3 separate regions of the Homo sapiens genome follow, and all the other regions are linked to region 3. The links are contacts of gene promoters, found by promoter capture Hi-C in blood cells and fetal thymus (Javierre and others, 2016). All regions are on one chromosome and are shown on one strand. The core of a region is centred on a gene start or on the middle of the fragment in contact, and the rest is flanking DNA. Distances in the headings are between cores, read along the strand shown.

Region 1 (4,554 bases), core at 1,163-3,662, 220 kb before region 3:
CTTTCATTCACTAAAACTCCCTTCTCTGTTACTGGTACCAAGGAAGCCTCAATTAGAATGGGGGGTCTGGGGAGGATAATCTATGAAGTAGAGACTGGTTAGTTACATGTCACCCTGTTCTCATATAAATCTGGCCAACGAACTGTTTAGCAAACTGTTCCACTGGAGGGCAGCCCCAGTGGGTGACAGCTCCCCAGCAGGACCAAAACACAGCGACTTTTAGATGTGGTGGACTCCCTGAAACATGGTTAAGACTCCTCTTCTGAAATATGGTCAGGTGTCTGATGTGTTGGCTTTCCTGGGGGTTTTTTTATTTTAAAAAAGCCTTGGATTTTAGAAGATTCATATACAGTATTTGAGACATATTTCTCCAGCCATCAGAGGAAGACACATTAGCAGAGATTAAAACGTACACTTACTGCTCATACCTCAGTCACACTTAGAGGAATAGCTATGGCAACTGGCTCCTGAAAAACTTTTTCCTAATTAGTTCCACAACAAACTAGATGTAGTATTTTGCATATATTTCCCCTGCCAACGCACCTGTGGTAGTTTCTAGTACATGGTTTCACTTCTATGATCTTTTAAGCTTTAATTCATGTTTTCGCACAGCAGAGCTAACAATGTGCAGGACCTAAACTCTAGGGTTGGTGATGCATTTAATGGGAACGTCTCTGGAGTCAATGGAACATGAAGACTGCTCCTTCCCTGTGGGCATGTTTTGGAAACACATATATTAATTTAAATTGAGTTTTTCAAATTCACTTATGAATGGAATAACAATAACTACACTTGTTATATTCTGCTTCTCAGAATCTGGTGACAGCAGGTTAAATGTGCAGGAATTTTTATCTACATCTCTACCCTTGGGGCTACACAGATTGCCAGCTTCTCTTACTTTTTCTGTTGGCATTATATCGCTATTCTGGATTGGAAGGTTGCCAGTCATCTCTTTGGTTTAACCCTAGGCACAGCTGCTACGGAGCCTCTCCCATGAGACTGGGTTAGTGAGAATAGGTGCTGAGAACCCCCCGCGGGACAGGATGAAGGGTTATATAACTCAATTTCAATTTGTTATTAGTTGAGAACTATTTATAACTCCATCCTGGATGTTTTAAGGCAAGATTTTCCCCTTTTTTCAAATACAGCTGCTCCTTGACTTACAATGGAGTTATATCCCAATAAGCCCAGGTAAGTGGAAAAATCTCAAGTTCAAAATGCGTTTAATATTCATACATCTAACCTACTGAACATCATAGTTTAGCCCAGCCTACCTTAAACGTGCTCAGAACACGTACATTAGCCTACAGTTGGGCAAAATCATCTAACACAAAGGCCTGTTTTGTAATAAAGTGCTGAATATTTCAAGTAACTTACTGAATACTGTACTGAGAGTGAAAAACAGAATGGTTGTATGGGTACTTGAAGTATGCTTTCTACTGAAATCATACTGCCTTTGTACCATCATGAAGTGGAAAAATCTTAAGTTGAACCATCATTAAGTCAAACCGTTGGTAAGCTAGGGATCTTCTGTAGCAGAAAGTAGTGGTCAACTTCAAACCAGTTTTAGCTGGTCCATTTTCTTAGCATCTAACTGACAAGAACTGCAGCAGGGACAGGAAAGCCTTAGGCAGGAATGAGGTACTATCAGATGGTGGGGGAGGGTGGAGGACTGGTAAGGAGAGCAAGCATTCTTCTAGTTCTCTGTGTAATTAGAAGACTTTGAACTTCTCACTGCCTCAAACAAGCTTAGCTAAAATCAAGCCTTGTTTGGTTGTTAGAAGCAGACCATGGGTCACCGCTGCACAAAACAGAAATGGGGCACAGTGAGTTAGTAGGGCCTTACCTATTAGCTCAAGCTGGGAAGATTCATATCTTCCAGCTTTATACAACAAGCTTAAAGGGCCTGGGCTTAGCAGATCCCATGCCACTATGACTGGGGTCCGGTAAAGTTACTCACACTGCACAGCTGACAGCAAACTTAAGCTGTTTAAATAAAGCCTTTGCAAAAGACTCTGCCTCCAAAGCTATCCAGGACTATTTTCAATTATAGGCCTTTAACTTAGCTTATTTGGTAATTTATTAAGTGCATAGACATCAGATTGCTAGGTTGGACCTAGAACAGTTCGCTGCATCTTCACAGAAGACTACTCTTCATTCTCTTCCATCTTGACCTGCCTTCACAATCTTGTTATTGCTATACAGTAACATAATATGATGTTAATATAACGTTATAAATATACATTCCATCCAAATTGTATCCTGGCTATTTGCAAGTCTAGGTACTGAAATCAATGTTTAGGTCAGGTGCGGTGGTTCATGCTTGTAATCCTAGCACTTCAGGAGGCTGAGGCTGGTGGATCACCTGAGGTTAGAAGTTCGAGACCAGCCTGGACAACATGGTGAAACCCCGTCTCTACTAAAAATACAAAAGCTAGCTGGGCCTGGTGGCGCACACCTGTAATCCCAGCTACTCAGGGGGCTGAGGTAAGAAAACTGCTTGAACCCGGGAGGTGGAGGTTGCAGTGAACTGAGATCACACCACTTCACTCCACCCTGGGCAAAAGAATGAAACTCAGTCTCAAAACAAAAAAACAAAAAACAAAACAAGAAAAAGAAATCAATGTTTAAATGATCAACAGAAGGACTTGAGCTATGGCTTTTTCATCACAGACAACCATTTACCATCACAGAAAAAAAATCCATCTAAATTATAGCATATTATATGCTATTTTTTTTTGTCTTTTCATCAACTATGACTGAACAGGAAGTAGTTATGGGTCAAGGTGTAGGAGGTCAACAAATGTCCAATTATTGATACTTACATAGAACCTACACTAAGAAAGAAAGACTAAGAACCTGGGCAGGAAGAAACAGTCTCTGACTCAGCAGCTGAGAACATCCAGGGGGTTAAAATGATGATAATAGTTAAGCTTGATTGAGCTCATACTGTCAGGCACTGCTAGGTGCTTTACAGGCAAGGTTTCTTTTGATTCACAGAAAAACTCCATGAGTGGGGTGACCACAAATTCCAGCTTATGCCTGCTGCCTTGGCAAAATTATGAAGGAAACAAAAATATTTCACCCAAAAATATACTTCTCTGACATATTTCAGATGGTTTTCAGAAGGGCTGGAAATACAAGAATAGCTGAGAGAAGCTGTGTGGGGCAGATTTGCATCTGTAGAGAAAATATGCATTGATGAGGTGGAGGCATTTCTCTGAGGCCCTACCTTGTCCAGACACAGGAAAGATTAATTGAGAGTCTGACACCTTAGAAGGTCAGAAAGAAACATATTCCATCTATTCTCTCTCAGGGCTGCGACCTGTGAGGTTTCATCTACATGACAGGACCACCTGTGCTAGCTGGGCCTCCTCTTCTCTCTCTCTCATAATCTGTCTCACCACCATAACCTGATTTACCACCATAACCTGTCTTGCCACACTCCAAGCCCTCATTCTTTCTGTAACCTCAAGGTGGTATAAAAGCATCAGCCATCTGGCCATTTTTTTTTTTTGAGATCTTATATTTTGTAAGACTTTTGTGCACATTAACAAATCTGTATGCCTTTTCTATTAATCTGCTATTTGTCAGTGGATTTTTCAGCGAGGATTCAGGGGGCACAGAGGAAGTTTTCCCTTGGCCCTGTTACACCAAGTAATGGGCTCACTGCTTGACGCGCTACATCTTTCCACATTAGTATATACTGCTTTTTTCTCATAAAAACAAACAAACAAAAAAACCTACAGAGTATTTCTCCCCAAGTAAACTTGATCTGGTATCATTTTTAGATAAGCTGCACATGAGCTGTCTTACTACAGAGAAATATTAAGACCAGCAGGCTTTATAGGTGAATGATATGGTTTAGCCTTGAACTGGGTAAGGTCCAGATGGCCACTGACCCTGTCAGCTAATTAGTGTCAGTTAGAATGACAACTCATCAACATTCTTCAACTTTAAATTGGGTGTAAGTATAAATTCCAGTTTGGTGTTTTGGTCACTTTGATGTACATTTCACATGAAGTTTATTACAGACACTATATCAAGAAGTATATTAATATTCTGTGAGTGCCTTAATAAGATTTTAGTGTGGCTGAGGTAGAGATCTGGTTATATTTGCCCTAAATTTGTTTCAGGCTAGAATTAATTCAGTTGCAAGGAACAGAACTTTAGGAAATCAACTACTCATTTCTTTATGTCCTAGAGTGGATTAAAAAGGATTTTCTGAGGAAGATTCTAGGCCTGCCTTTAGGAACTTCCACTGCCTGCCTCAGGACAAGGGGAAACATGGGCTTATATTTAGGTATTAGGTTCCTTCATTCTGATAAAAATACGAATGCACCATGAGTGCTGTTAAGACAACTAGGTCTGTATTTAGCTGGCAACATAATACATTTTTGGGCTGCTGCTTTTATATATGTATGTATGTATGTATGTGTGTATATATATACATATATATGTATATATATACACATATATGTGTGTGTGTGTGTGTGTATATATATATATATATTTTTTTTTTTTTTCCTTTTTGAGATGGAGTCTCAGTTTGTG
Region 2 (4,298 bases), core at 133-2,632, 260 kb before region 3:
CCTCTTTCTCTGAAATTGGTTTCCGCCTTCCCCAGGGAGCTGTCACAGGATATGTTACTATCTGCCTGGGGATAAAAACCCCATCAAGGCACGACAGCAACCGCAGGTGTGAGGAAATTCAATCTCTAATGGCAAAGGCTCAAACACAAAAGCTAGAAGCTCACGTGGTGGCTACACTCCAGCAGCTCCAGGTGGGCAGAGTGAAAGGTGGCAGTAGCAGGCTGACAGGTGGTCCGCCTGGAGAGAGGCTCTCTGGTGAGACAGAGCAACTGGTGTCGGGATCCCGGGGCTGGATCGCTTGTCTTCAGACATTTGGTTGAATGCAGTGACCATCGTGCTGTCCCCCTCCGTCTCTGTCCTGTGGACACCCACTTCCTGTCTCCCATTCCTCACAAGCGCAGGCCTGCTGCCCACTGCCTGGCGGCTTCCCCACTCCCAGTCTCTCAAGTCTTGCTTCCTCTGCCTAACTGGTTCCCATTCCTGTCATCTTTGGATCTGGTGAGAATCCCAGGACTCCATGGGGGCTGGAGACAGCTCGTGGGCTTAGCTATTTTGGAACCTTCAGAGCCTCTGTTCGCCTGCAGACAGGTGGCGTGTTTTACAGGTTCTACTCAACAGGAAGAAGATGTCTTGGAACTTAAGAGAAAAACTGGTTAGGCAGACTCCAAATGAAAGGAACCAGAAGCGAAGCGGAGTCTGCCGCATGAATTCTTAAGACCTCAGGTTATCTAGGAAATCTACCGCACGCTAAAGTGCTCCTCCGTAAGTGCTGCAGTTAGAATCTTCACAGCCTCCCTGCAGGATGTTTGTATCAAGCACCTGCTAACCACTGGCTCCGTGCGGTAAGACTTCTGAAACCTGTAGTGACGAAAGATCATTGCGCTTGGGGCTGTAGGCTTTCGCTTGTCTTCAGACATTTGGTTGAATGCAGGCCTGTGTCCACCAGGAGCACTGGGCTTCTCCTACACCAACTTGCTTCTCAGCCTTCTCTTCATTGGCACATCCCGTCCAGTGATACAGGATCCCCAGCCCAAGCCTCTGCTATTTACAGCAAGGCCCAGAGTTACGGAGAGAAGGCTGTGGATTCTACTCTTGAACGCACTGTGGCATCCCTGCGTGACCTTGTGTGGGAATGGCTGCCACACCCCCTCCCCACAAGCCAAGCATGCTAAAGCAAGCCCTGCACAGACCGCAGGAGTAGGGGGTCAGGATGTCTGGTTTTGTTCACTGGGGGGCCCAGTGCCTCAAGCTTCACTGAAACATGACTGATTGCCTCTAACGGACAGGAAAGGGCTCTGGATTTCAAGGGAAAGGCTGAGGAGGAAACAGATGATGGCTGGAGCGGGAAGAATTTTGTGATGGGAGAGTCTCTGCGCATGAGACAGTTGGAATCTGAACCTGCAGAAATTTGAGTTTAGAGTTTTGCAGATAGAAAGCACCCTATACATTGCAGGGAATAGGAATAATTTCTGGATTAAAAAGTCTTACCTGGTTTATCCCTTCCAATAAGAGGAAGAAGCTTGAGTTGGATGACTCGATCTGCAGTGCTTCAGCTGACACGTGTTAGCAGCCATTGTCCTAGAAATGATTTCACTGTTGGAAACTGCTGAAGAAATGTGATTCGGTGAAGTGGGGGAGGCTGTCCTGGCCACTGTGCACTGAAGACCAGAAAGAGACCGAGATGGCTTCCTTCTGAGCCTGTACCGCTGACATAGCTCTGTAGAGAAGGGGGTTGTATAAATGATGTCCCTAAGGCATGTACTCCCATGTATAGACACGAGTGCTGCATTCCCAGGCTCTGACGTAAACGCTAGGCTTTACAAAACAGAAACGTACACACAACATGGGATCTGGTGAGCAGTAACGTGAGAGCTGCTAAGCAGACACAGCAGGTTCTATTTTTAACACTTGATTGGCAAAATGGAACTCCCTTCCCCTCCACCCTCACAGAGAACGAGTACTTTTGTTTTTCTTGTGGGTGACCTAACTTACCTGTTTACCCAAGGCCTGTGAGCCTGCTACAAAAGTAATTCAGACAGTAGCTTAGTCCCAAGCCACCGAACCGTTCCTATGCGGGGAGCTGTCACTGTCACATTCAGAAAGCGTATGCACTGTAATAACAGCAATGGAACACACTAGGCTTTGGACAGACTTTACTGTCATATCTTCATTAGCTCAAACTAGAAAAAAGAGTTATTAAAAAGCGGGAGTTCTAGTAACACACAGTCTCTTTGTGAGGAAAAAGGACTTCAGATCAGTGAGGAAGGAATCTGCTGAAATTTCATGAGCATGCCATGCCTAATGCAGCAGACTTCCTAGAAAACCCCTAAACCATGGTATTTGAGAAAACAGAATAAGAGGCGGACCTAAGTGTATCAGGCAGCGGGGAGCAAACGAGCACTGGAAGGGAAGTCTAATGTGTGCTTTAACTGCAGCCACCCACTCAACCCTCCGAGACGAGTAGAGTATTTGCTGTTTCTCTGCCAAAGTTTTAAGGGAGTGTTTTAAGGGCTTTGAAGATTAGCAACTGGAATCCAGGGTGCATTCACAGCCCTGTGTGGGTATTTCCCCCCAAAACCTGCACAGAAGTGAGAATGACAAAATAACGACGTTCCTTCTGTCTGGAATTTAATTTTCTTATGAAAACAAAGACAGAAAAATTAAAATGACCCACTGCCAGGATAACATTTCCTTTTTTTTTTTTTTTTTGAGATGGAGTCTCACCCTGTCGCCCAGACTTGAGTGCAGTGGCGCAATCTCTGCTCACTGCAACCTCCGCCTTCCAGGTTCAAGCGATTCTTCTGCCTCAGCCTCCCAAATAGCTGGGATTACAGGCGCCTGCCACCATGCCCAGCTAATTTTTGTGTTTTTAGTAGAGACGGGGTTTCACCATGTTGGCCAGGCTGGTCTCGAGCTCCCAACCTTGTGATCCACCTGCCTCGGCCTCCCAAAGTGCTGGGATTACAGGCATGAAGGATAACGTTATTTCTACCCATCACTGGCACTTGCCCTTAATCCGAGTCATTTTGGAGCCCCCCTCTCTGTCTCTGGGCCTGCTTAATTAGCTATATGCATCCTCGAGGGCTGAGAAGGAAGGAAGGGAGAGTCCGCAAGTGGATTTTTAGTCTTCACCCAATGCAGAGGCAGTTTTGAGTTCTGTGGACAGCAGAAGCTTCAGTTCTTTGATGTATCTATGACTGGGCCAGAGCTGCAGATGACCAGGTCTGGGGACAGACAGAGTCTTCCCATCAGTCTTCCAGAACAGGGAGGAGATGGCTGGGAGCTCTGTTTGGTACCAACAACCAAAGTGAAGATTATGTGACAAAGGCTACAAAGGAGTCATTTATTAAAAACAAAACCCCAGAAACCCCTCAGCAGGAATTGATGACAACAACAGAGGAATCCAACACCCTGACTGCTTCAGACTCTGTTGACAACAGGATGGGTGCCCCCTGTGAGCTCGATCCACAGTGACTTCAAGCCACAGTGACACAGCACACTAATTCATTACACAGGTCAAGACAGAGGCAGCCACTGGGGCGGGGACCCTTGGGGAGAGGCTGGAACTCAGGGCCCTTCTCCAGCCTTTGTTGTCAGGCATCCTCATGCCAACCGCAGGCTTCTCTTTGCCTCTGAACAATGGGCACCTTCTTACCAGGCAGGGGCTGCTTAGGTAAAGGTCAGCAGACCTAACACTAGTTACTCCCAGAAATCTGGGCTTGCAGCAGAGACCACAGCACAGGGCCAGGCTCTCAGGACACAGCAGCTGGTTCTTTCCCCAGTTACTGGAATTTAGGGCCCATCTCAGAGGGGCATTTGACATGTGTCCCCAACACCCGGTTGTCACCACAGGTAAACCAAGACTATAATCACAACAGCAAGGACAGGATTGTGTTGCTTTTTTCCTTTTTTTTTTTCTTAAAGGAGTGAGGGCATGGAAAATATACAGCACACCAATGAAACAAAATGTCAAAAAAAAAAATACAAAAAAATAGAAAATAGAAAAATGTATTTACAAGTAGTACGTTACTATGATGAGAAAGCACAAAGACACCTGCTGCTATAATACATGCATTGGCTCGAGAAGAAACTACGGAACACCCTGCGAGGGAGAAGCCTAGAAAAGAAAGAAAGGGCCAAAAGGTTTGAACTCTTCATCCCTAATTTGCTACACTGATCAAAACCAAGTAAGGGCTCCTGAAGTCCATGAGTCTATCATCAATCAGCACAAATGCTATACTAGTTTGTAACTGCGGGGTCAGTTGTGAAGGGGAAGGACAGCAGCTTATCCATATACA
Region 3 (4,160 bases), core at 1,657-4,156:
GGTTTGAATTAATTGTCAGAAAAATAAGTCAAAGTAGATGCTACCCTAAAATTAAAGTGGTTTGAGTGACGAGTTCATCACTGGATTTAAGAGCTGTCTCTAGAGGTTACATAAATAAAATAGTGACCTATATTTCCACAGTCATGGACCAAAGGGTGGGAGTTTTGACCACAATAGACACTTGTCCATGGCAGAGTGGCACAGCAGCAATGAAGAGCATGGACTTGGGAGTCAGGTAGGCCTGGGTTTACGCCTGGTTCTGCCACTCACAAATTGGACAACCTTGGCCAAGTTATTTTACCATTATGAGAATCAGTTTTCTGTAAAATGGGGCTAATACACCCTCTTGTGGCATTGCTGGGAAGATGAAAACAGACAACAAATACAAAGTGTTTAGAACAGGGGCAAAAAGAAAATTCTCAACTCCTGGTGGCTATTACTAGACGCACTCAAGAATGTAATCTAGGCTGGGTGTGGTGGCTCATGCCTGTAATCTCAGCACTTTGGGAGGCCAAGGTGGGCGGATCACCTGAGGTCATAAGTTCGAGACCAGCCTGGCCAACACGGTGAAACCCTGTCTCTAATAAAAATATAAAAAAAAATTAGCTGGGCCTGGTGGTGGGCACCTGTAATCCCAGCTACTTAGGAGGCTGAGGCAGGAGAATTGCTTGAGCTTGGGAGGCGGAGGTTGCAGGGAGCCAAGATCGCGCCATTGCACTCCAGCCTTGGTAACAGAGCGAGACTGCGTCTCAAAAAGAAAAAAAGAGACCAGGCGCGGTGGCTCACACCTGTAATCCCAGCACTTTGGAAGGCCGAGGCAGGTGGATTGCCTGAGGTCTGGAGTTTGAGACCAGCCTGGCCAACACGGTGAAACCCTGTCTGTACTAAAAATACAAAAAATTAGCTGGGCGTGGTGGCAGGCGCCTGTAATCCCAGCTACTAGGGAGGCTGAGGCAGGAGAATCACTTGAACCCAGGAGGCAGAGGTTGCAGTGAGCTGAGATCGTGCCATTGCACTGCAGCCTGGGCAACAAGAGTGAAACTCCATCTCAAAAAAAAAAAATGCAAAAAAAAAAAAAAAACCCCAAAAAACAAACAAACAAACAAAAAAAACTAGAAGCCGAGCACAGTGGCTCACACCTGTAATCTCAGCACTTTGAAGGTTGAGAAGGGAGGATCACTTGAGCCCAGGAGTTCGAGACCAGCCTGGGCAACATGGCAAAACCCCATCTCTACAAAAAATACAAAAAGTAGCTGGGACTATACATCTGTAGTCTCAGCTACTTGGGAGGCTGAGGTGGGAGGATCATCTGAGTAGGGGGAGGTCGAGGTTGCAGTGAGCCATGATTGTGTCAGCCTCGGTAACAGACTGAGTCCTAGTTTTGAAAAAAAAAAGAGCGAGAATTAGGCAGGAGGAGGAAAGCAGTCCATGTGGAAAGACCAACCACATATTTGCCACCATGTATTGGGCCTTTAAGATGTGCCAAGCACTGTAGATTGCATTATCTCAGTTACTTCTCAACCTTATGGGGTGGGTACTATCACTACCCGCACTGTACAGATGAGGAAATTTAGGTACAGTGAGATTTAAGTACTTTGCTCAAGTTCCCACCGCTAATGAGATGGAAAGGCAGATCTGTAAATAGAACTTGCAGAGAAAACTGTGGTTATGGTACTAGGGGGTGAGAGGGGCAGACTATGGTCTGGAAGCTACCTACAGGAAGTGCAGTATGGCAGGAGGGAAGGAAGGGAGAGGAAGGCAATGGATCACCAAAGGGCTTGTAAGTCCTTTTAAACAAATCCAGCGGTTCTTAACCTTGCTTTGCCATAGCCTTCTCTAACAGCCTGGTGAAGCCCGGTTCTCTTCTCAGAGCAATGTTTTAAATGCATGAAATGCAACATACAGGATTACAAAGAAAACCAATGATACCGAAATTTAATTATCATGATAGTAAACAACCAAACTTGTGATGTATGTGCTTCTTACATCTTAGATATAGAGATGGGTCTAAAAATTAGAGTGGCACATTTTAAATCAGGGATGAGTGTAAATGACTTTTTTCCCCAATATCTTTTTATCAATAAAATGATATATTGATATCTGTATCTGCAAAGATTGTAATGAGATATGAAAATCTGTGACTTCTGTTGGGATAAAGTAACGGCATTGCCAGAACTACTGTGGCTTAGTGCTTGCAAGACGGAAAGAGATGCTAAAATTCAGTCAGAGATGAATAGAAAGCAAAGATGCAACATGTTTTCATTCCAAATTCAAGAACCCTTGGGTTCTATCCATGATTAGGCCCCTTGATGTTGCGGGGCTCTGTATTTATTCCCAGGGCACTAGGGAGTCACGGTCAGAGTGATGTGCTGGGCACTGCTCTTGGCAACAACCTCCAGGGTGGGAGAATGTGTTGGAGGTGGGGAAAGGCTGGGTGCGAGAATACCGGGAGGGGGCTGTTGCAGTTATCTCGAAGAGACGGCAGCCTTCCCAGTGTGGGGCAGTGAGGATAGACCCAAGGAGGCAGAATCAAAAGACATTTGGGTACCTCAGCTTCCCCGACTGGAATAATGAAATACCCTCCCTACTGCACCTGCCCATGCTTTCAATCTGCACTACACCCAGTCCCTGGAGGTCTCTCGGGGAAGGAAGCCGAGTCCCAGTGACTCTCTCCTCACCATCCATCCTCTCAGGCTCCAGGGGAAGATCCCACGCCCCTCAGCCAGTCTCCCCAAACATAGTACCCTACCGGCTCTTGGCTTCCCTGCCACGTGCGGGCGTTGCTCCAAGCCCCAAGCCGGCATTGCCGCCTCGCGGCACCGCTCCAGCTCCTCCGCATCGCTACTGCTGTTACTACTTTCCGAATCGCTCACTGTGCCACTGGGCGCCGCCATCTTGAACCACCGCAAAGGATTGTGGAGAACACCGCCGTTATCAAGCCTCCTTCATGACGTCACGTGAGAGGAGAGGCGCGAGGCATTGTGGGGATTGTAGTTCCAAGACTTGGACCGCCATTGGCCATGAACTGTACTGGGTTGGGGATACCAGGTGGGAATGGGGAGGTGGGCGGTTCTCAAAGGCAAGAGCTAGAAGGGCCTAAGAGATTAACTTCTCCAATCATTTCTTGATGACAGATCTCCAGAGGGGATGGGAATCTCCTAAGGAGTTAATGACAGACCCAGGATTAGTTCCCAGGTTTTGATTCCATGTCATTTATTCTAGTAATTTCCCAGTCCAGCTGGGCCTAAGAAACACCTTAGAGAGCTGGTTAAACTGCAGACTTTTGGGTCTCACAGAAAATACTAACAGAATCAGAATCTCTGATAGGTGGAATCCAGGAATCTGTATTTCCTTTAATAGCCTAGGGCCTTACTACTTAAGAGTGTAGTCCATGAGCCAGCAGCATTGGTAACACCTGGGAGCTCGTTAGAAATGCAGAATCCAGGCTGGGCACGGTGGCTCACGCCTGTAATCCCAACACTTTGGGGGGCTGAGGCAGGCAGATCACAAGGTCAGGAGTTCGAGACCAGCCTGGCCAACATAGTGAAACCCCATCTCTACTAAAAATACAAAAATTAGCTGGGCATGGTGGCACGCACCTGTAGTCCCAGCTACTCAGGAGGCTGAGGCAGGAAAATCACTTGAACCTGGGAGGTGGAGGTTGAGGTGAGCCAAGATCGTGCCACTGCACTCCAGCCTGGGCAACAGACTGAGACTCTGTCTCGAAAAAAAAAAAAGAGAAATGCAGAATCCTGTCCGGGCACGGTGGCTCACATCTGTAATCCCAACACTTTGTGAGGCCGAGGCGGGCAGATCATGAGGTCAGGAGTTCGAGACTAGCCTGACCAACATGGTGAAACCCCATCTCTACTAAAAATACAAAAATTAGCCAGGCAATACTGACTCCCAGGACCCATCCAAGACCAAAAAATTAGAATCTCTGTGGTTAAAATACCTCACAGTGAAGGATGAACAAAATCACTTTACTTTTGTGTGTGGAATGCTGTTTCATGTTTTATCTTTGAAGACAGGTATGTCAAAACTTTACTAAAATAAACTCTCTGGCCTTGAGCTTTTTCTATTTCAAAGAAGAGGAAGGTGACTGATATGGTCTGAATGTGTTCCTCCAAAATTCATATGTTAAAATTGACACCATAAAA

Evidence for each region. Contacts are between HindIII fragments. The CHiCAGO score rates a contact against its expected background, and 5 or more counts as called.
Region 1: a fragment that was not itself captured here is called in contact with the fragment with the promoter of C12orf43 in region 3 in 1 of 17 cell types (M1 macrophages); the score reaches 5.4 in M1 macrophages.
Region 2: a contact is called between a fragment that was not itself captured here and the fragment with the promoter of C12orf43 in region 3, in 4 of 17 cell types (M1 macrophages, M2 macrophages, erythroblasts and 1 more). The highest score is 8.6, in M1 macrophages.

Annotation. Positions count from the first base shown.
Region 1 is chr12:120,797,920-120,802,473 of GRCh38, forward strand. All of the region lies in intron 2 of SPPL3 (signal peptide peptidase like 3), which reads right to left. Among named protein-coding and RNA genes, the nearest start is that of ACADS, 74 kb to the left of the region's middle. The HindIII fragment of the contact is 1,037 bases long and covers 1,895-2,931 here.
Region 2 is chr12:120,759,903-120,764,200 of GRCh38, forward strand. SPPL3 (signal peptide peptidase like 3) reads right to left here. Exons shown (of 11, transcript NM_139015.5): 11 at 2,608-4,298. Among named protein-coding and RNA genes, the nearest start is that of ACADS, 36 kb to the left of the region's middle. RefSeq lists a silencer at 3,196-3,359. The HindIII fragment of the contact is 270 bases long and covers 1,248-1,517 here.
Region 3 is chr12:121,013,581-121,017,740 of GRCh38, forward strand. C12orf43 (chromosome 12 open reading frame 43) reads right to left here and starts at 2,907. Exons shown (of 6, transcript NM_022895.3): 1 at 2,750-2,907. The coding sequence starts at 2,894. RefSeq lists enhancers at 2,086-2,601, 2,573-3,082 and a silencer at 2,810-3,003. The HindIII fragment of the contact is 10,275 bases long and covers 1-4,160 here.